Regions from separate parts of the Homo sapiens genome. Here regions 2, 3, 4 and 5 are each linked to region 1. Evidence: promoter capture Hi-C in 16 types of primary human blood cells and fetal thymus (Javierre and others, 2016). All regions are on one chromosome and are shown on one strand. The core of a region is centred on a gene start or on the middle of the fragment in contact, and the rest is flanking DNA. Distances in the headings are between cores, read along the strand shown. Region 1 holds the start of NHLRC1 (NHL repeat containing E3 ubiquitin protein ligase 1). Region 2 overlaps KIF13A (kinesin family member 13A). Region 3 overlaps KIF13A (kinesin family member 13A). Region 4 overlaps KIF13A (kinesin family member 13A). Region 5 overlaps KIF13A (kinesin family member 13A).

Evidence for each region. The method cuts DNA at HindIII sites, captures the fragments that hold promoters and counts their contacts. A CHiCAGO score of 5 or more calls a contact.
Region 2: a contact is called between a fragment that was not itself captured here and the fragment with the promoter of NHLRC1 in region 1, in 7 of 17 cell types (M2 macrophages, M1 macrophages, megakaryocytes and 4 more). The highest score is 10.6, in M2 macrophages.
Region 3: a fragment that was not itself captured here is called in contact with the fragment with the promoter of NHLRC1 in region 1 in 8 of 17 cell types (M1 macrophages, M2 macrophages, monocytes and 5 more); the score reaches 8.2 in M1 macrophages.
Region 4: a fragment that was not itself captured here is called in contact with the fragment with the promoter of NHLRC1 in region 1 in 6 of 17 cell types (megakaryocytes, M2 macrophages, M1 macrophages and 3 more); the score reaches 8.2 in megakaryocytes.
Region 5: a fragment that was not itself captured here is called in contact with the fragment with the promoter of NHLRC1 in region 1 in 4 of 17 cell types (megakaryocytes, M1 macrophages, erythroblasts and 1 more); the score reaches 9.3 in megakaryocytes.

The regions. Positions count from the first base shown.
Region 1 is chr6:18,121,427-18,126,047 of GRCh38, forward strand. NHLRC1 (NHL repeat containing E3 ubiquitin protein ligase 1) reads right to left here and starts at 1,251. Exons shown (of 1, transcript NM_198586.3): 1 at 1-1,251. The coding sequence starts at 1,180. The HindIII fragment of the contact is 6,107 bases long and covers 555-4,621 here.
Region 2 is chr6:17,873,476-17,878,096 of GRCh38, forward strand. The region is part of intron 3 of KIF13A (kinesin family member 13A); the gene reads right to left. Among named protein-coding and RNA genes, the nearest start is that of KIF13A, 110 kb to the right of the region's middle. The HindIII fragment of the contact is 4,568 bases long and covers 1-4,253 here.
Region 3 is chr6:17,918,247-17,922,867 of GRCh38, forward strand. The region is part of intron 2 of KIF13A (kinesin family member 13A); the gene reads right to left. Among named protein-coding and RNA genes, the nearest start is that of KIF13A, 67 kb to the right of the region's middle. The HindIII fragment of the contact is 1,780 bases long and covers 1,799-3,578 here.
Region 4 is chr6:17,940,106-17,944,726 of GRCh38, forward strand. All of the region lies in intron 2 of KIF13A (kinesin family member 13A), which reads right to left. Among named protein-coding and RNA genes, the nearest start is that of KIF13A, 45 kb to the right of the region's middle. RefSeq lists an enhancer at 1-332. The HindIII fragment of the contact is 2,209 bases long and covers 1,049-3,257 here.
Region 5 is chr6:17,956,014-17,960,634 of GRCh38, forward strand. All of the region lies in intron 2 of KIF13A (kinesin family member 13A), which reads right to left. Among named protein-coding and RNA genes, the nearest start is that of KIF13A, 29 kb to the right of the region's middle. The HindIII fragment of the contact is 1,154 bases long and covers 2,081-3,234 here.

The DNA.
Region 1 (4,621 bases), core at 1-2,500:
AGTCAACTTTATAGACTTTTATAGAATGAGATGCTGTGTCCAGCACAAGAAGAGAATTCTCCTTGGTGAAGGTAAGAGCCACAGGATGCGAAAGACCATGAGTGACCATGGGCTTCGGTACTGGAAACTCCTCAGGTTTTCCTAAGCAAAGGATAGCTGGACCAGATGTATCTGCAACAATCACATTTCCCTGGTGATCAAAGGTCACAGCGGAGGCAGTTATTTTGGAGGGAAAGTAGAGGCTCAGCCCAAAGGTATCCACTTGGCCGACAAGCTGCATACTTGAGCTAAACACTTTCACCCTGGTGCTGCAAACCCCAGTCCCCAGGGCCAGGGGGTGCTCCAGGACCGCAATGGCCCCGGTGAGCCAAGACACTGCCACCCCTCGGGGATTGCACAGATGAGCTTGCAACCTTTCAGTTCTCCGAAGGACCCCTTCCGCGAAGTCGACGTCCAGGAGGTGCAGGGACCCTGCCTCCGCATCAGTTACCACAATCCCATTCTGAGGGGTGGTCTCCACACCCCAAGGTAAGGAGAATTGGCCTCCAATGACAAGCTTGATCTGGCCAAAAAAATCAAACACTTTGATGGAGCGATCGCCGGCGTCAGTGACAACCACATGGCAGTCGTTGGTGATGGTGACATCCACAGGGTACCTAATGTCTTGGGCAGCGTCCCCCTTCTCTCCAAACTGATGCGCGCATCCTCCCCCTGAGTCAAAAATCTTGACACGCCTCCTGCCGTCGTGCACCACCACGACACGCCCCGTCTTGGGACAAAGCGCCAGTCCGGTGGGGTTGACCAGGGTCCCCCAGCCGCCGAAGGTGTGGTGGCAGGTGAGGGCTCCGGGGGCGCTGGGGGCGGCGCGATGGGCGGCCGGGGACTGGCGAAGCGCTGAGCCCAGGAGCTCTATGAGGTGCAGCACCGGCAGGCAGTCGCTGGTGTCGCAGCCCCGGCAAGCTCGCCTGCAGAATGGGCACTCGAGGGCCAGAGTGCGCGGGTGCGCCAGGGCGGCCACGCAGGCCAGGCAGACCACGTGGCCGCAGGACAGGTTGCGCGGGCGCCGCTGCTGCCGGTGGCCAAACTTCTCAAAGCACACCTTGCACTCGAGCAGGCTGATCTCCGCCTCGCGCATGAGCTCATGCAGCGCTGGCCCGCTCTCCGAGGCTTCGGCCGCCATGGCGCGTCCTGTGCACTCCCGCCGCGCCGCCTGGCCGTGCCCCAGCGACGCTCTCGGTCACGGTCACAGTCATGGTCACGGGGTGGGACGTGCGCCCTGACGTCGAGCGCCGCGGGCCTCTGCACTGCGATCTGCTGCCCCTTGGTGGGCACGCGCGGCACTGTTTCCTGAGGGCCTGATGGTGGACGTTTGCAAGACAAATCCACATGCGCGTTGTGTAGACCTGTAATCGTCACAGCAGTCATGGATGGATTGTGTACACTTTCAGATGAGGAAACACACCTATTGAGGACAACAGGATTGCTCCCTGTCACCCAGCCTGTAAGCGGCAAAACAAGAACTAGAACCCAATCTTCCAGCCCGGGTGCCTAGCAGTGTCTCCAATCCGCAGCGCCGGGTGCTACGGCTGTCCGGGCATAAAACATGGTCCCTTAGCTCATGATGCTTATGATCTGAACCGGAAAACACGAACACACTAGAGAAGATAAACTCCAAGGGAGGTGAGGCAGATGTGTACATTTCTTTTGTGTCTTCTGTCATACTCATAGTTAAGTCAATGTTAGATGAATACATACTTGTAAAATGAATTTGTGCATGAATGAATGTTATAGAACAACAACAACAACAAAAAAAAATCAACGAGGTGAATGAGTGTCAGATGGGGCAACCATGCTGGAAGTGTCTTGCAGAGTAATTAATATGAAATAAGAAAGCTGTTAGTTAATAATAATTACCATAGAACTTCATTTTTTTGTTTTTTAAGACAAAGTCTCACTCTGTCACCCAGGCTGGAGTGCAGGGGCACGATCACAGCTCACTGCAGCCTCCATCTCCCAGGCTCAAGCAATCCTCCCACTTCAGTAGCTGGGACTACAGGCATGCACCATCACACTAGGCTAATTTTTTAATTTTTTTGTAGAGAGGAGGTCTCACTATGTTGCCTAGGCTGGTCTTGAACTTGTGAAAATTGTTCACATTCCTCCCCACCCCTTGGCCTCCCAAAGTGCTGGTGTGAGCCACTGTGCCCAGCCTATGGAATTCACATATGCCTGCCCCATTGTGTTAGGTTGGTGAAAAGGATTCGCAGTGTTTGCCATCACTTTTAATGGCAAAACCGTGATTACTTTTGCAGCAAATTAATAAATAATTTACATAGATTATCTTGTTTAAACCTCATAGCAATCCTACAAAAATATGTTATTTTTATTGTCTTTTTTTCTGATAGAATTCATAGAAATCAAATATCTTGCCCAGGGTCACATGGCTAGGAAGTGGCTGGCCTGGAATTTGAAGCCAGGCAGTTTGACTTCAGAGTTACCTATTTTAGTCATTTTCAAACTTCTTTGCACATGGTAAACACCTGGGTCGCACCCGAAAAGTTTAATTGGCCCATGGTGTGGTCTGGACAGCTGGGATTTATAAAAGCTCCCCAGGTGATTATAATGTACAGCCAAGTTTGAGAAACACTGCATTATAATAATTCCCTCAAATGACACTAAGTTCAGTTTTTCCAATCTCAGTTAAGACCAAAAACAAAGAGAATTTGCCATATGTTGGAAAATCTTCAAACAAGGGATAGCATAATCTGTGTGAAGAATCCATTGTGGTATTATAATCTCTCATTTTTCTTTTTCTTTCTTTTTTTTTTTTTTCTTTTTGAGACAGAGTCTTGCTCTGTCACCAGGCTGGAGTGCAGTGGCGCGATCTCGGCTCACTGCAGCCTCCACCTCCTGGGTTCAGGCGGTTCTCCCACCTCAGCCTCCTGAGTAGCTGGGATTACAGGCACCCGTGACCATGCCTGGCTAAGTTTTGTATTTTTAGTAGAGATGAGGTTTCACCATGTTGGCCAGGCTGGTCTCAAACTTCTGACCTTTCGCGTCAGCCTCCCAAAGTGCTAGGATTACAGGCATGAGCCACCGTGCCTGGCCCTAAACTCTTATTTTTAAGGGGTTCTCCCTCAAATGTCTTATGTGAACATTGTGCTTAACAAAACCTTGTATTAGAGAATTTCTTTTCCTTTAGAGATCATAATCATGAACATTCACCTTCTGATTTGCTAGATTTCTGAGAAAACACAATATTTTATCCCCTGTTGAGGCCCCTGGAAAGAGCTTTAATGTAAGACAAGAAAGAACATTTTCTAATCAAATGTCATTTGACTCAAAGATTGCGTACTGGGACACAATAACCAACTTAATAATTTCTGACTACATTTCCATCCCAAATAAACAACCAACTAAAATCACATTATTTATGCAATCACACCATTGCATAATTGATTAATAACAAATATGTCTTGAATCTCACTCTGACATTTGGCATTTCCTATGACTATCATTTCCTCCTCCATGGCTGGGCCTCCATGGATTTACCCTGTGCTTCCCTCCGATATTCCTTCTATAGAGGGTCCTGGACTAGCATGCCCATCTTTTCCTGCTTCCACCTAGAACAAGCCCTGAGAGTTGTGGGGGCAAAGGGCTTGAAGAGCAGAACGTCTAGTTTCCAAAGTGGTCAATGGCTGCCCTATGAAAAAGTACCATACTATAGTGGAAGGAGAGTGGGGACCCAGCTCAGGATGGTTCCAGCAGAGAAGAGAGCACAGGGGGAGCATGAGTTAGGGGGAGTCAGTGCTTAGACAGGTGGGCTCCTGGTTGTGCAGGTGGGGCAAATGTGCCAGACACATGCAGTTTAGAAGGAATCCCAGAACAAGTTTAATGATCCAATTACAACTCAGACTACCTGACAATGATGTAAGGGAAAGGAAGATGAACAAGCCACACAGAATGGGCTTTGCTTCCAGCCTTGCCCTCCTCCCAGGGGCGTCTCTGACCACCACTCTAATTTTTAAGCTCCATGTTCTTGGCATCTCAGGGGTGAGGGATGTGGTGGCAAGAGGAAGAATGGCTGTTTTTGAATTTTTTGAGTAAGTCCATACAAAAATGAGTGGAGATGTATGTTTGGAAATGGGGATCTAGAGATTTGAGTGCATCTCAAGTTCAATGCAATTGAGTGTTCCTCAGGGTGCCACCTTCAGTCTTTTTCTCTTAGCTTCCTACCTGTTTCCCTGAGCAATGCCATCTTCACTTCCTCGTGGTTTAAATGACCAGTTATAAGCTGACAGCTCCCTGCCTGTACCCCTAAGACAGCCATACCATATGAAGTTCAATGTTCAGTCCCTACCCCTACAACCTGTGATGCCTGAGAAAAGGATTATCTTCAATAATCAATAAACCTTTATCTGCTAGCACACCCAATAGTACTTAAATTGCTGAATGAATGCTGACTCTAATAGCAGGAGAAAGACTAAATAATAATTGTACTGCCACATTACAACATTATACAGCTATTTAAAAATCTTGCTTTTGAAAAATATTTAGTGACACTGTTACCAGTAGAAGGTTTGACTACAAGTTGTCCAGGTTCTTGGCTTTTTGAACAAAG
Region 2 (4,621 bases), core at 720-3,219, 250 kb before region 1:
TAACTTCTTATGAGTAAATCAGACTAAAATAAATCACAGGTGAAGATGAGAAGGATGGCCACTACTGTCTGACTGAAAAAAATCACTATAGGTTTGGTGCTTTTGTTAACCATAAAATTTCTTATTTTCCTCTTTTTTGGGGGACAGGGTCATCCAGGCTGGAGTGCAGTTGAACTATCACAGCTCACTGAAGCCTCAAACTCCTGGGCTCAAGGGATCCTCCTGCTTCAGCCTCCTGAGTAGCTAGGACCACCAGTGCATGCCACCATATCGAGCAATTAAAAAAAAAATTGTTGCAGACAGGAGGTCTTGCCCTATTGCTCAGGCTGGTCTCGAACTCCTGGCCTCAAGTAATCCTCTCTCTTCTGCCTCCCAAAATGTACTGGGATTATAGGTGTGAGCCATCGCGCCTGGCCCTATGATATTTCTTTTAGACTAAATATATGGTTAGCTTTCTGTATTAGAATAAGTTGTATATGAAAATTACTATTTATCTAGAATTCAAATAACCAGACATTTTAACGAGATATTTTTTTCCACAATACATCTGATGAGAAAACACAAAAAACAAAAACAATATCTTCTCTCGCAAGTCCATGGTTTCAGCAACCATGGAACCTTCCAGGTCGATCTCCCTCAGCTTCTCAATACTCAACTTTCATATAAAGCAGTTCCTTCTCCTAGCTTTCCATGATATCATCTGTAGCATACTGAAGTTCAAAACTCTCCATATTCCCATCCTGCACTCCTTTCCCCTTCTGTCTCTGCAGGCAATCTCCAGCAAAGCATGTTTTTGTTTTTGTTTTTGTTTTTTGGTGGTGGTGGGGGGGGTTCTTACTGTATTTTTAATATACAATTCCTCGAAAAGTAAAGATGTGAAGCAACTTTACATGTTTAGCAATTTTACATGTTTAGTATTTGGCATGTCTTTTACATGTAAAAGTATCTCTTCATATTTTTTAAATTTTAATTTTTTTTGAGTTGGAGTCTCGCTTTGTTGCCCAGGCTGGAGTGCAGTGGTGCGATCTCGGCTCACCGCAACCTCTGCCTCCCGGGCTCAAGTAATTCTCCTGCCTTCAGCCTCCTGGGTAGCTGGGACTACAGGTGCTCGCCACCATGCCTGGCTAATTTCATGTTTTATCTTTTTTTATTTTTCTATAAGTTATTGGGGTACAGGTGGTATTTGGTTACATGAGTTAGTTCTTTAGTGGTGATTTGTGAGATTTTGGTGCACCCATCACCTGAGCAGTGTACACTGCATCATATTTGTAGTCTTTTATCCCTCGCCCCTCTCCCACTCTTCCCCTCAAATCCCCAAACTCCCCTGTATCATTCTTATGCCTTTCTGTCCTCATAGCTTAGCTCCCACATATCAGTGAGGACATACAACGTTTGGTTTTCCATTCCTGAATTACTTCATTTAGAACAATAGTCTCCAATCTCATGCAGGTCGCTGCAAATGCCGTTAATTCATTCCTTTTTATGGCTAAGTAGTATTCCACCACACACACACACACGCACACGCACGCACACACACACACACACACACAGCATGGTTCCTTTATCCACTTGTTGACTGATGGACATTTGGGTTGGTTCCACGATTTTGCGATTGTGAACTGTGCCACTATAAACATGCATGTGCAAGTATCTTTTTCGTATAATGACTTATTTTCCTCTGGATAGATACCCAGGAGTGGGATTGTTGGATCAGATGGTAGTTCTACTTTTAGTTCTTTAAGGAATCTCCACACTGTTTTCCATAGTGGTTGTACTAGTTTACATTTCCACTAGCAATGTAAAAGTGTTCCCTGTTGACCGCATCCACACCAACATCTACTGGTATGAAATCATTAATTCACTTTTACATGAATTAACTTTCTGTATAGCTACTGAATGCCTACTATATACCGGGAATGGCTGGTGCTTCTTGGTGCTTCCCCTGTAAGGACTCCCATCAAACTGCTGTTTTTTCTTTTCCTTTTTTTTTTTTTTTTGAGACAGAGTCTCACTCTGTCACCCAGGCTGCAGTGCAGTGGCATGATCTCAGCTCACTGCAGCCTCTGCCTCCTGGGTTCAAGCAATTCTCCTGCCTCAGCCTCCCAAGTAGCTGGGACTACAGGCACGCACCACTATGCCCAGCTAATTTTTGTATTTTTAGTAGAGACGAGGTCTCACCATGTTGGCCAGGGTGGACTCAAACTCCTGACCTCAAATGATCTGCCTGCCTCAGCCTCCCAAAGTGCTGAGATTACAGGCGTGAGCCACCATGCCTGGCCCTAACTGCTGTTTTTCATGCCCATTACCACCACTTGTGTTCCAGCTGTTATTATCAAATGTGTAGAGCAATGTTCCCCAAAGTGTGTTCTAAGGAACCAGAGTTTCATGAGCTACTCCATGAAAAAAGACCAAATCATGTTGGAAGTGGTGCACGTTTTATCCTATTTGAGATTCTCAATGAAATTCTCAATATTAAAGGCTCTAAAAAGTCTTCCAGAGACTTTTCAGAAATGAAGTCCAGGAAAGAAGCCTATTTGATTGTTTAACATTTTATTTCCCCAATTCATTTTGGTGAGGAGACCCTTTTTGGACTAACACTTATTAACATGCCTTGGAACTACTACTTCTCAGCATATCCCTTAGCAAATGCAGCCCAGGTGACTCAGCAGCTACCTTCCTGGGCTCACTGCTATTGCCCTTTATCTCTTGCAGTCCAAACAGCAAATTACAAACCTCCCATGGGCAGGATCCTTTAATGCTTAATCACTTCCAAGAGATCTTAAGCACTGAGCATACAGAACCCATGCTCTTTGGCCTGGCATTTGAGACTAGCCACAATAGGCCCTCCCAGCCTATTAACCCCAAATTCCTCATGCTCCAGTGGAACTTGTCCTTACCTCAGAATTACTAAGTATAATTTCATCTCTGTCCTTGTTCTCTCCTTCATTTCCACCCTTCAAAATACGTCATACCCCTTAAGGCCCAGTTCGATACATTTTTCCTCCCAGAAGCATTCTTGGTTAAATCCAAAGGAATCATCTTTTCTTTCTCTGAAACCTTACAACACTGTTTAGTCCTTTTTTATGGCTCCTATCTCAATTATTTTATTTTTCATTTATCATGTATATGATCTGTGTGTGTGAGACAGCATTCATTCATTCATTCATTCATTCATTCATTCAGAGACAGGGTCTCCCTCTGTTGCCCAGACTGGAGTGCACTGGCACTATCATGGCTCACTGCAGCCTCAATCAGCTCAATTGATCCTACCTCCTCAGCCTCCTGAGTAGCTGGGACTACAGGCACATGCCACCATGCCCAACTAATTTTTGTGTTTTTTGTAGAGATGGGACTTCGCCATGTTGCCCAGACTGGTATCAAACTCTTGGGTTCAAGCAATCCTCCCACCTTGGCTTCCCAAAGTGCTGGGATTACAGGCATGAGCCACTGTGCCCGGCCTGTATATATGTTTCATCTCCACTTGTAGACTAAGTTCCCTGAAAGCAGGATCCATATCGAATTCATCTTTGAAGCCTGCAATGTTTATAGTAGTCACTTTATAATTACTTATTGATGTACTTAATGGCATTAAGATCTCGCAGGGAAACAGGCATTTTTTTACATTATAAAAGACTAGTAAGTTATACGCAATGTTCTCTCTCTCTTGCCAAAAAAAAAAAAAAAAAAAGACTAAGTTATGTTCTGAATAGTTTCAGCACTATATATACTTTATTTTAATGTTTTTAAAACTGATTTAGGTATATATGATGTACTCAACTTACATCATCAACCCGAGATCCAAATTCAATTTTGTTACTTAAACAAACATTCACTCTGGTTTTATAATAACCAAGTTTCAAATGAACAGTTATGAAACAATAGTTTCAGCCAAGAGAATGTGGAATATTTACTGCATTCAAGGGCTCTTCCAATGACTCTAGAGACCGACCACACAGGCGTAATCCAGTTAATCTTCCTGCCTCTGGGTAGGACTGAACTTCAACACTTCTAAGAGATGATGATCTATCTTGTTTTTAAACATCTCCAGAAAAGGAGATTCCACAAACTCCCTTTAATGGCATCTTATAATACTTAACTTTTATTTCCAGGACATTTCCCTTTTCTTTTGACCTAAGTCAACTCTCCTTACTTTAAACAGCCAATAGAGGCTATTTTCCTTTCTTTTCTTTTCTTTTTGTTTTTTTTGAAGTATCTTTACCGCTCTCCTTCTTATATCCCGGGCACTGTGCCCAAGCTTGATCCATGGTGAATTTCAGTGACATGCGTCATCCTAAATATTAAGAAAAAAAAAATCCTCCCACCAAGAACCTTTGGTTTTCAACCTCATTCTGTGCTGCTTTCAATAACTTCTGGTTTCTGCACTAAAAAAATTTGCAGTCAGTATTTACTGAGCATGACTACAAATCAGGCCTAGTAGTAGCCATCTAATTCATTAATTCACTTATCCATTCACAAATATTTATTGAGTACCTATTGTGTGCTAAGCGCTAGAATTATAGCAGTCAAAAAACATGCAAAGACTCGTGGAGCTCATGAGTATCCTATTACTTGCATTATCTGTAGTAATACTTATATTATTCATGTCCCTTATGAAGCTCCC
Region 3 (4,621 bases), core at 1,439-3,938, 200 kb before region 1:
AGTGCTTGACGTGCAGCAGAGGATAAATGTTTACTGAATAAATACATACATGCATAAAAAATAGTCTCAGAACTGTAGACCAAAAGAATGTAAATGTCCCACACTGCCATTTATGACAAGTTGTACTTAAACGGCAGCCTATTTTTACATAAATAACAGTTACATTTATTTTACTACTACAGAAAAATGATTATTTTATGTCTGTTAACTACTAATTTGGAGTCCTTTTCACAGGAATGTGTTGCTGGTTTATTTACTGGATTACTCAGTAGCTCTTAAAGTGGCAGGTATCAAGTGGGGAAGCTAATTCCCACTTCTGGGTCTCAGCAGGTATGTGTGTCGAGTTATCTAAATGGACCTTGTGTTTTCTTGGGGCTGCCTTCCTACAGGTAAGAGAAGTATCACTTGGAATTGAAAGCACTCCCATCCCCAGGCATCTGCACAAGAAGCTCCCTCTGCCTGGAAAGCCCTCTCCAGGGCTTGCTCCTCAGAGGAGTGTTCCCCGTACTCCCTACATTAATGTTGAGGCTGCCTGCACCACCTCCATCCCACCTGCATCCTGCTTGGCCCTGTCACTCAGTCTCCTATCACTGTGCTTTGTTTCCTTCTCAGCACCTTTCGCCATGTTAAACCATTTCATTATTTATTTGCTTATTATCCACAGGTCTCCCCTGGATCTGACAGTTATAAGATCCACGGAAAGAGAGGCTTTGTCTATCTTGTTCTCTGATACATTCCCAGTGCCTACAGGGTTGTCAGGCACGAAATAGTCACTCAGTAAGTATCTCTTAAATGAATGGACAGATGCAGTCCTTGGCTCACATCAACGGATCACTTGTAACATTTGAGAAAATGGTGATGTTTCCCTGAATAACTCCACTCTTTGGATTGAAGACCAAGTAAACATACATATAGTGCTGTGTTTTTACAAATGCTTTAATAGTGAAAATTGCAAACACATACGAATGGAATGTGAACAGCATCACATAACATCACAAAACATCACAGCACATCACAAAACAGTAGAAAGTATCCCTCTTCAACAATTACCAATACATGGCCAGTCTTGCACAGGTAAAGTACTATGTACTTAATGCTGCTAAAATAAGACCATTGAGAGAATTTCAAAAGTTATATTAATGTCTGATCCAACATGGATTCATATTCAACTTAGGGAAACAAACTAGCAGATTATAAATTTCCAAAGGGCTCATCTAAGTTTCACATGGTGCTGAGAATAGTAATCACTCCTTTTCTCAGAGACTTCAACCCTCCTATATATCCAGAGTAAGAAAGCTGTGAGTATCAAAAATAGATGTTCTACAGCCCCAAGGGGTCAGCCATGTCTCCACTCCTAATGCACTCAGTGGCTGCTTTACCTACCCTGATTTGACCTGTTCTATTATCTAGTTTTCCAGCACACACAGCAGATACGACAGCTAACAAGCAGGGCTGTGAGACAGGGTGGCAGCCGAACGGTGTCTCCTGGCAGCCCAATACTGTGACAAGAGGTGAAAGCTGAGGGCAACCCAAGCCCCTTTCACCATGTGGAAAATAATGGATGCTCATGATGACATCCAGCAGCCTCTGGCTCTGCTACGACAGTGAAGAAATACAGCAAAACAGTGCAGGACCAGTGTTTGAAGGAATAAGCTCCAGTGATCTGAAAAATTAACTTCTATTAAAATACTCATGGAAGGGAAGACATAAGCAGCAGGTTGAGTTAGAAGAAAATTTTTTGTTGGATTAGGATTTATTTTAGATAAAGATTCTAGACAATTTCAATGATTTAGGATTAAGCTTGCTTGGTTTCTGTTTTAGTGTTTTGACCAAAAGGGTGTAATTACATGTAGTTTTCGTCCCAGTCTCTATTACATGGTCCAGGTCAAGAAAACAGGAGTGACCAACAGAAGAAAACATACTCCAATGAGGCACGAAATGAAAAGGTGCAACTGGGTATGCCCAAATCAGCAGGCCTCAAACCTGTCATGAAACATGTCTAAAAAAAAAATACAAGGTAAATTAGCATTCCTAGCATCTTCACCTTCACTTCTCCCCCACTTACCAAAAATGAAAGGTGGGAAGGAGAGAGGATAGGAAGAACACTTTTTTCTTTTACAATCATCAAGGAGAACAATCATTTTCATTAGTGTTTCTATACACAAAATCTTTCTCTGCTTGAGACATTAAAAAGAAAATTTTGGTCTGGGCCTTTTGGTTAGCTTCCTACTTTTCTGGAATACCATTCCAAGGACAATGAATATCCTTTCAAAGCTGAGACCTTATTCTTTTCATCAATTTACAAAACTACCTATTCACTCTACTTTCATGTAAAAGTAATATGCGGCTGGGTGCGGTGGCTCACGCCTGTAATCCCAGCACTTTGGGAGGCCGAGGTGGGTGGATTACCTGAGGTCCGGAGTTCGAGACCAGCCTGGCCATCATGGTGAAACCCTGTCTCTACTAAAAATACAAAAATTAGCTGGGCCTGGGGGCGTGCACCTGTAATCCCAGCTACCCAGGAGGCTGAGGCAGGAGAATCTCTGGAACCAGGGAGGAAGAGGCTTCAGTGAGCCGAGATTGCACCACTGCACTCCAGCCTGGGTGATAGGGCAGGACTATGTCTCAAAAAAAAAAAAAAAAAAGTAATATGCATTGCTTAGAATAAACATTGTAAATTGAAAGTGAACTGCAAATAAGTTTGCCCTTAAAGGGTCATATCCTCCAAGATAAATGCTATCTTAAGGTACTGGAAAAATTCCACTGCAATCCTGAGGCCTACTAGGCAAATGGAACCAATGGAAACAATGAAAAATACATAAATGACACCTTTCCCAAAGATATTCAGAGAAGGATTACTGCAGCAAGACACACTAATGTTAGTGTAGTTCAGAGTAGGGGGTCCCATAATCAAACATGTTTTTTAATGCCTGCCTCTATAAGCCCCCAACTTAAAAATTCCCAAAGCATGGTAGCATATCAAGTGCACTGAGAAGTTGTGCAGTAAATAAACTGATTTAACTTTATTTTACTGCAGAGACATTCTTCCCTGCATGGCAAACATTAGCATCCAGTTCAAGGGAACACACTTCAAGGAAAGCTGACAAATCTCAAGTAACAATAACCAGCTAATACAGAAAAATAGACTCACAGTCTTCACTTTATGAAGGAGGAAAAACATACTCAGAGACCTACTTTTAAAAATGTCAGAGGACCATAACAATGATGCCAGTAACCCCTTAGTACAATCTTTCCAGAAAGTTTTTCTACATTTGAAAATAAATGCAAACAGCTGAGCTTTTTATTCGCACTTTGATCATTTCCATTGGGGTATTTTAAAATGAGACAATGGGTGTGCCCCTTCACTGACTCCCTCAGTGAGGACACAATAGAACAGAACATCTGCCAATAACTGATGAGAATCAAGGTGGGGAGAGAGGAAGGGAGGAGAATGCCCTTGGAAAGCCAAGAGTGGGAAGAACAAAAACTCTTGGTGTCGTCCTGTGCTCTGAAGACTAGCCTGCTTCTGGTTAAACCACTTGGGCTCTTGGCTGGCCCCAATCTACCTAAAGCTCCAAAGCTTCCCCCAGTAGAAGTTTTGTTTTTTGCTTATAGACATTTCACTTTTCCTGCAAGTCCTATTAGTTGAGTGACTAAAAAATCTGCAGAGTTTACTTATAGAAGTACTTTTATTGATTAATCCAAAGAGAAACTTAAGCTTTTAAATCAGGTAAAAAGGGGCATCAAACACAATACATTGAACTTTTAATTAACAACACTGGAAGCATTTTTGGGCCCACAACAATTTAACTCACTTCAAGTCCAATTTAACTTATTTCAAGTCACTAGAAGGAGTGACCCCAGGGGAGGGCTCATCGACAAGATCCTGCAGACACAGGGCTTTAACTCCAGACCCAGGAGACTCAGGTCAACAGCTAACAGCCCCTGCAAAAGTCCATCACAGTCCATTCTCTAGAAGGTCTCCAGAAATGAGAACATCTAGTATTTCCACTAAGGAAAGCCAACAATTTGGAAATTCCCAACCCCCAACTCAAGGGATCTGTGGCAAGGTGACTTGAGGAGTTTGGAGTCCATGTTGTTTTCCAAACACCAGTGAAGAAACAAACCTGGAGGATGGAAAAATAAACCATGGTACTCCATACAATGCAACAGTTTACAGCAGTGGAAGGACATTAACCACAGTTTCACACATCAATGTGGATGAATCTGAAAAAAATAATGTTGAAAGAAGAAAGCAAGCCCGTGAATAATATATTCAACATGATTCTATTACATTAATTCACCAAAAAGGGCAAAACTAAAAATATATTGCTTGGGGATAAATAGTTAAATGAAAAACTTAAAAAAAAAAAAAAAAGAAAGAAATGATAACCATAAAAATCAGGAAAGTGAGGTTATTTAGAAGGACACTCCTTTGGGTCCACTCTTCTAAAACATGGGTTATCTGTGTTTTCAGCTAGATAGAGGGTATGTGGATATTCATTTCTATTATTATTCTTTAATTGTACATATTTCTTCTTTTTTTAATTAAAAAAAAATAGAGATGGGGTCTCACTACATTGCCTAGGCTGGTCTCAAACTCCTGGGCTCAAGCGATCCT
Region 4 (4,621 bases), core at 903-3,402, 180 kb before region 1:
CAACATCGGGAATTTACTCTATATGGAAGTTCCTTCCTTCCTTCCTTCCTTCTTTCCTTTCCTCCTCCTCCTCCTCCTTTTTCCTCCTCTTCCTCTTCTTCTTTTGGAACACTGTTTTGAAGGTACATCAGCACAATGCTTCTTAAACTTCAATATGTATACGGATGCTTCAGGAACACTATTAAGCGCAGATTCTTCGATTCTGTAAATCCGTGGTGGGTCCTGAGCTTCTGCATTTCTAATGAGCTCCCAGGGTGTGCTAATGCTGCTGATCCACAAGGGATTCGAGCATGCAAATTAAGTTATGGAGAAAGCATTACTGTTTAATTTTACATATGGTAGGAAAACGCTGTTAGTGAACCTACAGATGAAACCTAATTAGGGGTCAAAAATCAACCACAGATAGAGCATATTTTATCTTTCCAGTCATTGTTTCCTTCTTTCAAGAGGCAGCAGCAGAGTTAAGAGAGAATTCCCTGTTCCCCTTACCAGACCAGTGAAGAGTTTTCAGGAAGAGACCTCACAGGAGAGCTATATATAAAAGACAGCAGAAGGCAGGGCTTGAACTAATGGCTGCATAATTAGCTTGATATAAAAGAAGATTATTTGCATTTCAAGTGTTACACATTTTCCCCCATAACAAGAATTCCTGTAGTTAGAATTTTTTATGACAAACTTTTTAATTAGTTAGGACTTAACACATGTAAATTTATTTTTTTTTTTTTTTTTTTTTTTTTTGAGACAGAATTTGGCTCTGTTGCCCAGGCTGGAGTGCAATGGCGCAATCTCGGCTCACCACAACCTCTGCCTCCTGGGTTCAAGTGATTCTCTTGCCTCAGCCTCCCAAGTAGCTGGGATTACAGGCATGCACCATCATGCCTGGCTAATTTTGTATTTTTAGTAGAGACAGGGTTTCTCCATGTTGATCAGGCTGGTCTCGAACTCCTGACCTCAGGTGATCCGCCTGCCTGGGCCTCCCAAAGTGCTGGGATTACAGGCGTGAGCCATTGCACCTGGCCCAACATATGTAATTCTAAATCATCAAAGAAGCTTTAACTGGTATTTGAAGGGTAGAATCCATTCTGCTACCCAAATATATTACCCTCCTAAAACCCACTAAGAAGCTGCTGTCACCTGGATTTAAAATAGCCTGGTGCTATGAACTCTGCCCTAATTATATCAAAGAGTAAAGTCAAGGTTTTTCAAATCTCAAATCAAAATCAAAGATCTCAACCTTTGGGAGAAGCTCTAAATATCTAAAAGCATCTTAGCTATTGTTATGAATGGAATCATGTCCCCACACCCTAAATTTCCATATTGAAGCCTTAACCCTCAGTACCTCAGAATGCGACATCTGGAGATAGGAGCTTGAAAAAGGTTAAAGTTAAAATGATGTCATTACAATGGGACCTAATGCATTATGACTGGTGTCTTTATAAGCAAGGAAATCCGGACAGAGACACACAGAGAAGGAAGACAATGAGAAGACGCAGGGAGAAGACAGTCATCTACAAGCCAAGGAGAGAAGTCTCAGAGGAAACCAAACCTGCCCACACCTTGATCTCGGACTTCCAGCCTCCAGGGTAGTGAGAAAATATTCAACCTTCAACATGGGTACCCATGTTGAAGGCACCCAGTCTGTGGTACTATGCTATGGTAACCCTAGCAATACCAATACATTTGCTTTTTTTTTTTTTGGTTCCCAATTCACAGTAGATGTTCTAAAGAAAGTTCTGAACTTTCCTTCAGAAAAGGATGGGTTGTATATACTATTAATTATTAACGTTATTATTAGAGATACTTTGGGACATAGGAAAGTTTACGGTGAGTGTTAGAAGGCCTCACCACAGCTGTCAAATTAACTTGTTCTCTGAATACCCAATGCAAAATATTCTATATCAACATATATATTTCTGCTGGGTGTGGTGGCTCACACCTCTAATCCAAGCATTTTGGGAGGCTGAGGTGGAAACTGCTTCAGCGCCAAGAGTTCAAGACCAGCCTGGACAACATGGCAAAACCTCATCTCTATAAAAAAACACAAAAATTAGCCAGGCGTGGTGGCATACACCTATAGTCCCAGCTACTCGGGAGGCTGAGGTAGGAGGATTACTTGAGCCCAGGAAGTCCAGATTGCAGTGAACCATGATCATGCCACTGCACTCCAACCTGGGTGACACAGTGAGACCTGTCTTGAAGAAACAAAACACAACAAGAACAACAACAACAAATATATATATATATATATATATATTTCTGTTCATTGAAATTTAGACTTTGCCACACCAGAACAATCTGAAGCCTGCCTAGGTTTAAATTCTGGTGTTGTCATTGAATTAGCTGTATAATTTCCAAATTTCACTCCCTCCCATCTGCAAAATGGGTACCTACCTCATAAAGTTGCAGCAAGTATTAAATGAGATACATTTCATAACAGAAATACATTTCATAACAGACACTGGCTGACAGCTCTTCCAGCATATCTGGGTGCCTATCAGCCTTGGCTATTATATTTATCAAATATAGTCAAAGTCCTCCTCTCTTATAAACAGGCTTGGCTAGCTGGACAATGAGTTTAAAGAGTAGATTAGGCCGGGCGCAGTGGCTCACGCCTGTAATCTCAGCACTTTACGAGGCCAAGGCAGGTAGATACCCTGAGGTCAGGAGTTCGAGACCAGCCTGGCCAACATGGTGAAACCCCATCTCTACTAAAAATACAAAAATTAGCTGGGCGTGGTGTCAACACGCCTGTAATCCCAGCTACTCGGGAGGCTGAGGAAGGAGAACTGCTTGAGCCTGGGAGATGGAGGTTGCAGTGAGCCAAGATTGTGCCACTACACTCCAGGCTGGCCGACAGAGTGAGACTCTGTCTCAAAAAACAAAAACAAAAACAAAAACAAAAAACAAAAAAAAGAGTAGATTAAAGCAGAGAATCATAAAAATGGGTACTTATACCTTTAAACGTTTTTACATTAACTTAAAGTATTTAAAAGTTCGTTCATTCTGCAATCTTTAGACTGACACAAAGTACATTTCCTTGAGAATGGTCTGCTGAATGGAGTTCTGGTTGTTTTTCTATGTAAACTACACCATGATGCATTATGAATTTTCAATGTCTGTTTCTTTAAGGAGAATAAAGAACTGGTCACTGAAAAACAATCTGAGTATAGAAACCTCTTCTATTTTTATAATCCCTCTCTCTCCTGTGTTTAATTCGATGGCAGTATTTTTTAGAAAGTGATTCTCCAATGTTAGTAAGCTTCAGAATCACCTGGAAAGTTTGGTAAAACACAGATTTTTTTTTTTTTTTTTTTGTATTTTTAGTAGAGACAGGGTTTCACCATGTTGGCCAGCCTGGTCTCGAACTCCTGACCTCAGGTGATCCACCTGCCTCGGCCTCCCAAAGTGCTGGGATTACAGGTGTGAACCACCGCACCCAGCCAAGTTTCTGATATAACAGGTCTAGAGTGGAGGCTGAGAATGTGCATTTTTAACAGGTTTCAAGAGGACTCTGATGCTGCTGATCTGGGAAGCACATTTTGAGAATTCACTTTCACTGATTCTGTCTTCCACAGAAAGCACATTTTTTCTGTTCATATAATATCAATTTACATAATAACTAAACTCTATAAAGCCAAATACTACTGGTTTTGGTAATTTACAACTCAACGGGGAGGCGTGGAAGTGCGTGGCATGCAACTGGGATGTCCATGGTCAACGAACCCACCCAGCATGAGCATCAGTTGACTTATGTCATAGAAGGAGTTGAGAACACCAGTTAATGCAGTGAACTGGTTAAATGGAGATCAGTTCAGAAAGCCTCAACCACATTAAGTTGATGCTTATAACTTTTCTGCATCTACCCAACACAAAGCAGAAAAGAATCATGAGCTAGAAGTATATGGTTTTCTAATAATTACACACTTGCTGAAGATTTTTCTCTTTATGTGGCATCTCCAACTCTACGTTATTATCTATACAGGGTAATCAATTTGGCTTTAATTTGTAGGTATAAAAATTCCCCATGGAGATCTGACATGTGAGCCTTACCGCCTTTACCGCTGACATCCTCTGAGAAATCACAAAGTAATTTGTGATTCAATGCTTTATGTAACTTGAACTTTCTTTCAAAACTTCACCCTGTTTTCTGAGGAGTTCCAGTTAATTGATCCATACACACTCAAGTTCTTATAGATGAAAACTCAGGACAGTGGAACACATTTCTGAGTGCCCTCCTGAGTTCAGTATGCCCCAAATCCATTTACACTCCATTAAATAACAAGCATATATGCTAGAACACAAGTTACCATTCCCTGACCCTGGGTTATCTAGCTGCACTAATAAACCAAGAAAAGATTAACCAATTGTGACAGCTTATCAAGACCTCCAGAAAAAGATTCAACTCCAATTGCACACACATGAACAGGAGGCCAAAGACAAAGTAGCTGGCCCCTCTTGTCCCACTCCTCCCCAAATTAACTCCCCCTGTCTAAACCACACAGGCACTGAGAGGCAGCAGAAGCCCAGGGCATAAAACAAAACAGAAACAAAAAACACGTAGAAATTCCAGCTCAATTTCACTTCCAAAATCTAAAGAAAATATTTCTATTTATTTATAAAA
Region 5 (4,621 bases), core at 1,408-3,907, 160 kb before region 1:
TAACATTGCTTTAAATCTACAGTCAAGCATTTTGAGTGTGAACAGCAAGCAAAGCAACGGACTTAGGTTCACAGTGCCAGGCTCCGTTCTAAGGACTCATCAAGTGGTAGCTCATTTAACCTTACATCCGTAAGATGCAGGTATTATCATCCTCATTTACAAATGAGGAAGTTGAGGCATGGAGAGGACAGGTAACTCATCCAGGATCACACAGTAATAAGTGAAAAGGCTAGGATTTACTTTCAATCTGGCTCCAGAGTCTGTGCCTTTAACTACTGCTCTGTTATTAGACTCAACAATAGGTCCATTACAAAGAAGGTCCAGAAAAATCCAGCATGTGCACACTTTTTCAAAGACCATCAACCATGCAGCCAAGTGCCACCTGTTTGTGGTCCTCCCTGATTAGCAGTCTTGTCCATCATCTACTTTGTGCCTAGCACTGCAAAAGCAACCAAGATGGAAACAAACCCAATATGCAAGAGATTTACTATCTAGGTAGGGAGGCAAGTTATGCCTAAGCAGCAAAGGTGGTGTTAGGCTGTGATATTATGGTGATAGACATATATTGGTTTTTGTCCATGGTTCCTGGCTCATAACTCCCATACCCCTTGTTACAGTCCTTTGCTATAATGTTGGGGTGCTTTAGGTCTCAGGAGGAGGCCTCAGGGAATAGATTCTCTCTCGCCGACCTTCTCCTGTCCTCTAATCTGGCTGTGGGTCAAAAAAAAATCCTCATTCCAGAGAGGGTCCTGCTCTATACTCTGGAGGAAGAAATGCTGCATAGAGAGGCCAAGAAGGAACTAACACAGACAGGCCTTGCTGAGTTTCCCCACTCAGTCTACTAGTATGAGATCACAACCTTTCTGTTCAATCACATTTTTTTTTTTAGACGGAGTCTCACTCTGTAGCCTAGGCTGGAGTGCAGTGGTACAATCTTGGCTCACTGCAACCTTGCTTCCCAGGTTCAAGTGATTCTCCTGCCTCAGCCTCCCAAGTAGCTGGGATTGCAGGTACCCACCACCATGCCTGGCTAATTTCCTGTGTTTTTAGTAGAGACAGGGTTTCACCATGTTGGCCAGGCTGGTCTCGAACTCCTGACCTCAAGTGATCTGCCCGCCTTGGCCTCTCAAAGTGCAGGGATTACAAGTGTGAGCCATCGCACCAGGTCCCACTTTTTTATGCCATCCATATTCAATCATGTCTATATAACAAGACCTCCATAAAAACCCTCAAGCACAAAGTTTGGAGAGCTTCCAGATCACTGAGCACATGGAGGCAGCAGACAGGACAGTGAAAAAGAACTCGTTCACATGCTGGGAGGGTGGTGTACCCCATCTCCACAGGGACACAAGCTCCTGTGCTAGGGATAGGGACCCTTGCAGACCTCGCCCTATGTATCTCTTCATCTGGCTGTTTATTTGTATCCTCTAAGATAACCTTCATAATCAACTGGTAAATATAAGTGCTCCCCTGAGTTCTGTGAGCCTCTCCAGCAAATTAATCAAACCCAAAGAAGGGGTCCTGGAAACCCCAACTTGAAGCTGGTAGGTCAGAAGTTCCAGAAGCCCAGACTTGTGACTGATGTTTAAAACAGGGGGGCAGTCTTGTGGGACTGAGCCCTCAACCCGTGGGATCTGACACTATCTCTGAGTAGACACTGTCAGAACTGAATCAGAGGACACCCAGCTGGTGTTCACTGCTTGTTGGTGGGGGAAAACCCCAAGACATTTGGCCACAGAAGTCTTCTGTGTTGCTTGTTGTGGTGTGAGAGCAGAGGGAAAACACAATTTGAGTTTTCTGCAAAACACAGGCTTATCACAATATTTAAAGACATGATGTGTCTCATGGCCAGACAGAGTTGTTTGGTGTTTTTCCTCTTCACATTGTCATAAAGCTTAACATGACAATGACTTCACATACTTTTTCAAAACACTTTAAAAGAACAGCCTGAGGTTTAGACCAGCCTTCCTCTAGGAAACAGTCACAGAAAACATTTTCAATGGTGAAATGTCTCTAAAAGCTCTCACCAAACCCTGCTTTTGAAGCAGCTTCAGTCTGATAAACTGACACAGAAATAAAAAGCTTCTCATATAATAGACACCCGCCTTTACAAGCTGCTAAGCTGCCACTCACAATTATACCTCAGGCACAAGGAGGGTTTTACTCACCAGCCATTCTAATCAATTGCAATTTGTCTTTGGTGGCATTAATTTCATCTACTATCGCTAGATGATCATCAAATCAACCTAAATTCCTCAAAAGATACTGAAGGGGTTTGCAAAAATTCTTCCCTAAAAAATATTCTCTGGCTGTCCATTCCTCTCAGCAGTAATGTTCCTCCCAATTGCTTTTTAAGAATACTTATGTTTGCATATGGTGTTCTGGACAGCACACATCTGACTATATCTAGTTAGATACATCAAACTTCTGAGTAACTGAAATTGCTAAGTAAAATATCTATAAATAGGCAAATACACAGTCTGTGGCTTATAACATTCGTTTAGAAGCTATATATAGTAAAAAGTATTCTCTATAGATGTAGTACAGCTGTTATTTGAATTGTGACACGCAAAGACAATATGTATTTGAACAGCAGTTTACTTCTTTTATCAACTATCCTCATGTTTCAAATTTGACAGTTTTATTCCATTTCTTCATCTTCACCTTGAATATACAATGTGATATTTCAATTATATGATTTATTCTTATACTTTAATTCCATTTATTCCATCTAATCCATTGTCAAGGTGTTGTATTCATCCGAATGCAAAACTGATTTTCATCTACTACTTATTCAATACATAAAAATCCAATTATAAAACCATGTTGACAATGCTAACATTTGTGTGTCTTTTTCTTTTTCTTTTTTTTTTTTTTTTTTTTTTTGAGACAGGGTCTCACTCTGTGCCCAGGCTAGAGTGCAGTAGTGCAATCATAGCTCACTGCCACCTCTATCTTCCAGGCTCAAGCAATCCTCCCGCCTCAGCCTCCCACGTAGCTCCCAAGTAGCCTCCCAAGTAATCACCATGCCAGGCTAATTTTTTTTAAAATTTATATTTTGTAGAGATGGGGTCTCACTATCTTGCCCAGGCTGTGTCATTTATCTCTAAATAAAAAAATTACTGTAAGTCATATATAGGTCACTGTTTAAGGAGCTACATACATCTTATCATTCATTCAATGTTTACTCCGTGCTAGGTATACAATGACAAGCAAAACTGACATCATGCCTGAAGCTTCATAAGAGCTTCTAGAGACAGCCTCATCTATGTTATAGAGACTGCATGAAAAATAGCCATGCCCATACAAAGCAATGCATTTTAAATACATTTGCAAATTACTCTTTATTACTTACACTACATTATGTTTGGGAGATGCAATGCAAAAAAAGAGTTTTATAAAATATTCCATTGCCACCAAAAATAAAGTTCTCGGAACACCAGATGTTTCTCTGTAGGAACACATAAGAGTCAAGGGTTGGAAAGCAGCAGAGGAAAGAATGTATTCTTAGAAAAATAAACTGGATAGAAACAGGCAGTCAGTGTAAACAACTCTAAAATAAAATGATCTCAACACCTTCTGTATCAACAAGTAGAGAGTACTCCTCTTCAGGCAGAATTGATTATTTTCAATTATATTTCCTAAACCTCCACATTAACCCAAAATAAACATGAAAGTCAGGGACATCTAATGGTAGCTTTCCTTATTCAATTAAAAGCTATCAGTTCGGCTGGGCGCAGTGGCTCACGCCCGTAATCCCAGCACTTTGGGAGGCCGAGGCCGGCGGATCACCTGAAGTCAGGAGTTCGAGACCAGACTGACCAACATGGAGAAACCTCGTCTTTCCTAAAAATACAAAATTAGCCTGGTGTGGTGGCGCATGCCTGTAATACCAGCTACTTGGGAGCTGAGGCAGGAGAATCGCTTGAACCCGGGAGGCGGAGGTTGTGGTGAGCCGAGATCGCGCCATTCCACTCAAGCCTGGGCAATAAGAGCAAAACTCCACCTCAAAAAAAAAAAAACAACAACAAAAAACAAAACTCTCAGTTCTCACCAATTAACATGTCCTCCCCAAATGGTGGCTAGAAAAAGGTTTATCATGCATTCATTTTGAATGGCATTTGTGATTCCTCAACCCATGGGGAAATTTTAGGAGTTAAAAATCTGCCAACAAGGTAAAATCATAAAAAAAGGTTATGAGTCAAAGGGAAAATCACTCTTTAGTAACTAAAAAAAAGTAAACATTCTTTGAGAGTAGCAAAAAGAGAGCGAGTATAAAAAATAATTTTGGATTTTGCCTTAACTGGAAACACTAATGGACCAGCCTCTGGGCACCAATGTTTGTTGACTAAACTTAACAAATGAATTATAACTAAAAATAACACTGCTAAACTTTAAAACCAAGATGTTTTTGCTAAGCAAACTCTCCCCACAAATAGGTATCTCTTTCTATGTATTAACTATGCATTTATGAATGTGATCAGCCTGGCTAACAAATCAGTGACCATTTTGGGGTAATAACCTTCAATACTATTACCCAAAGAGGGATCCTCTTATATCAGTTATAGTTGGGGTTGGGGTACAGGGCAGCTCCTTCCTTTACCCAGGGGATATATCGAGA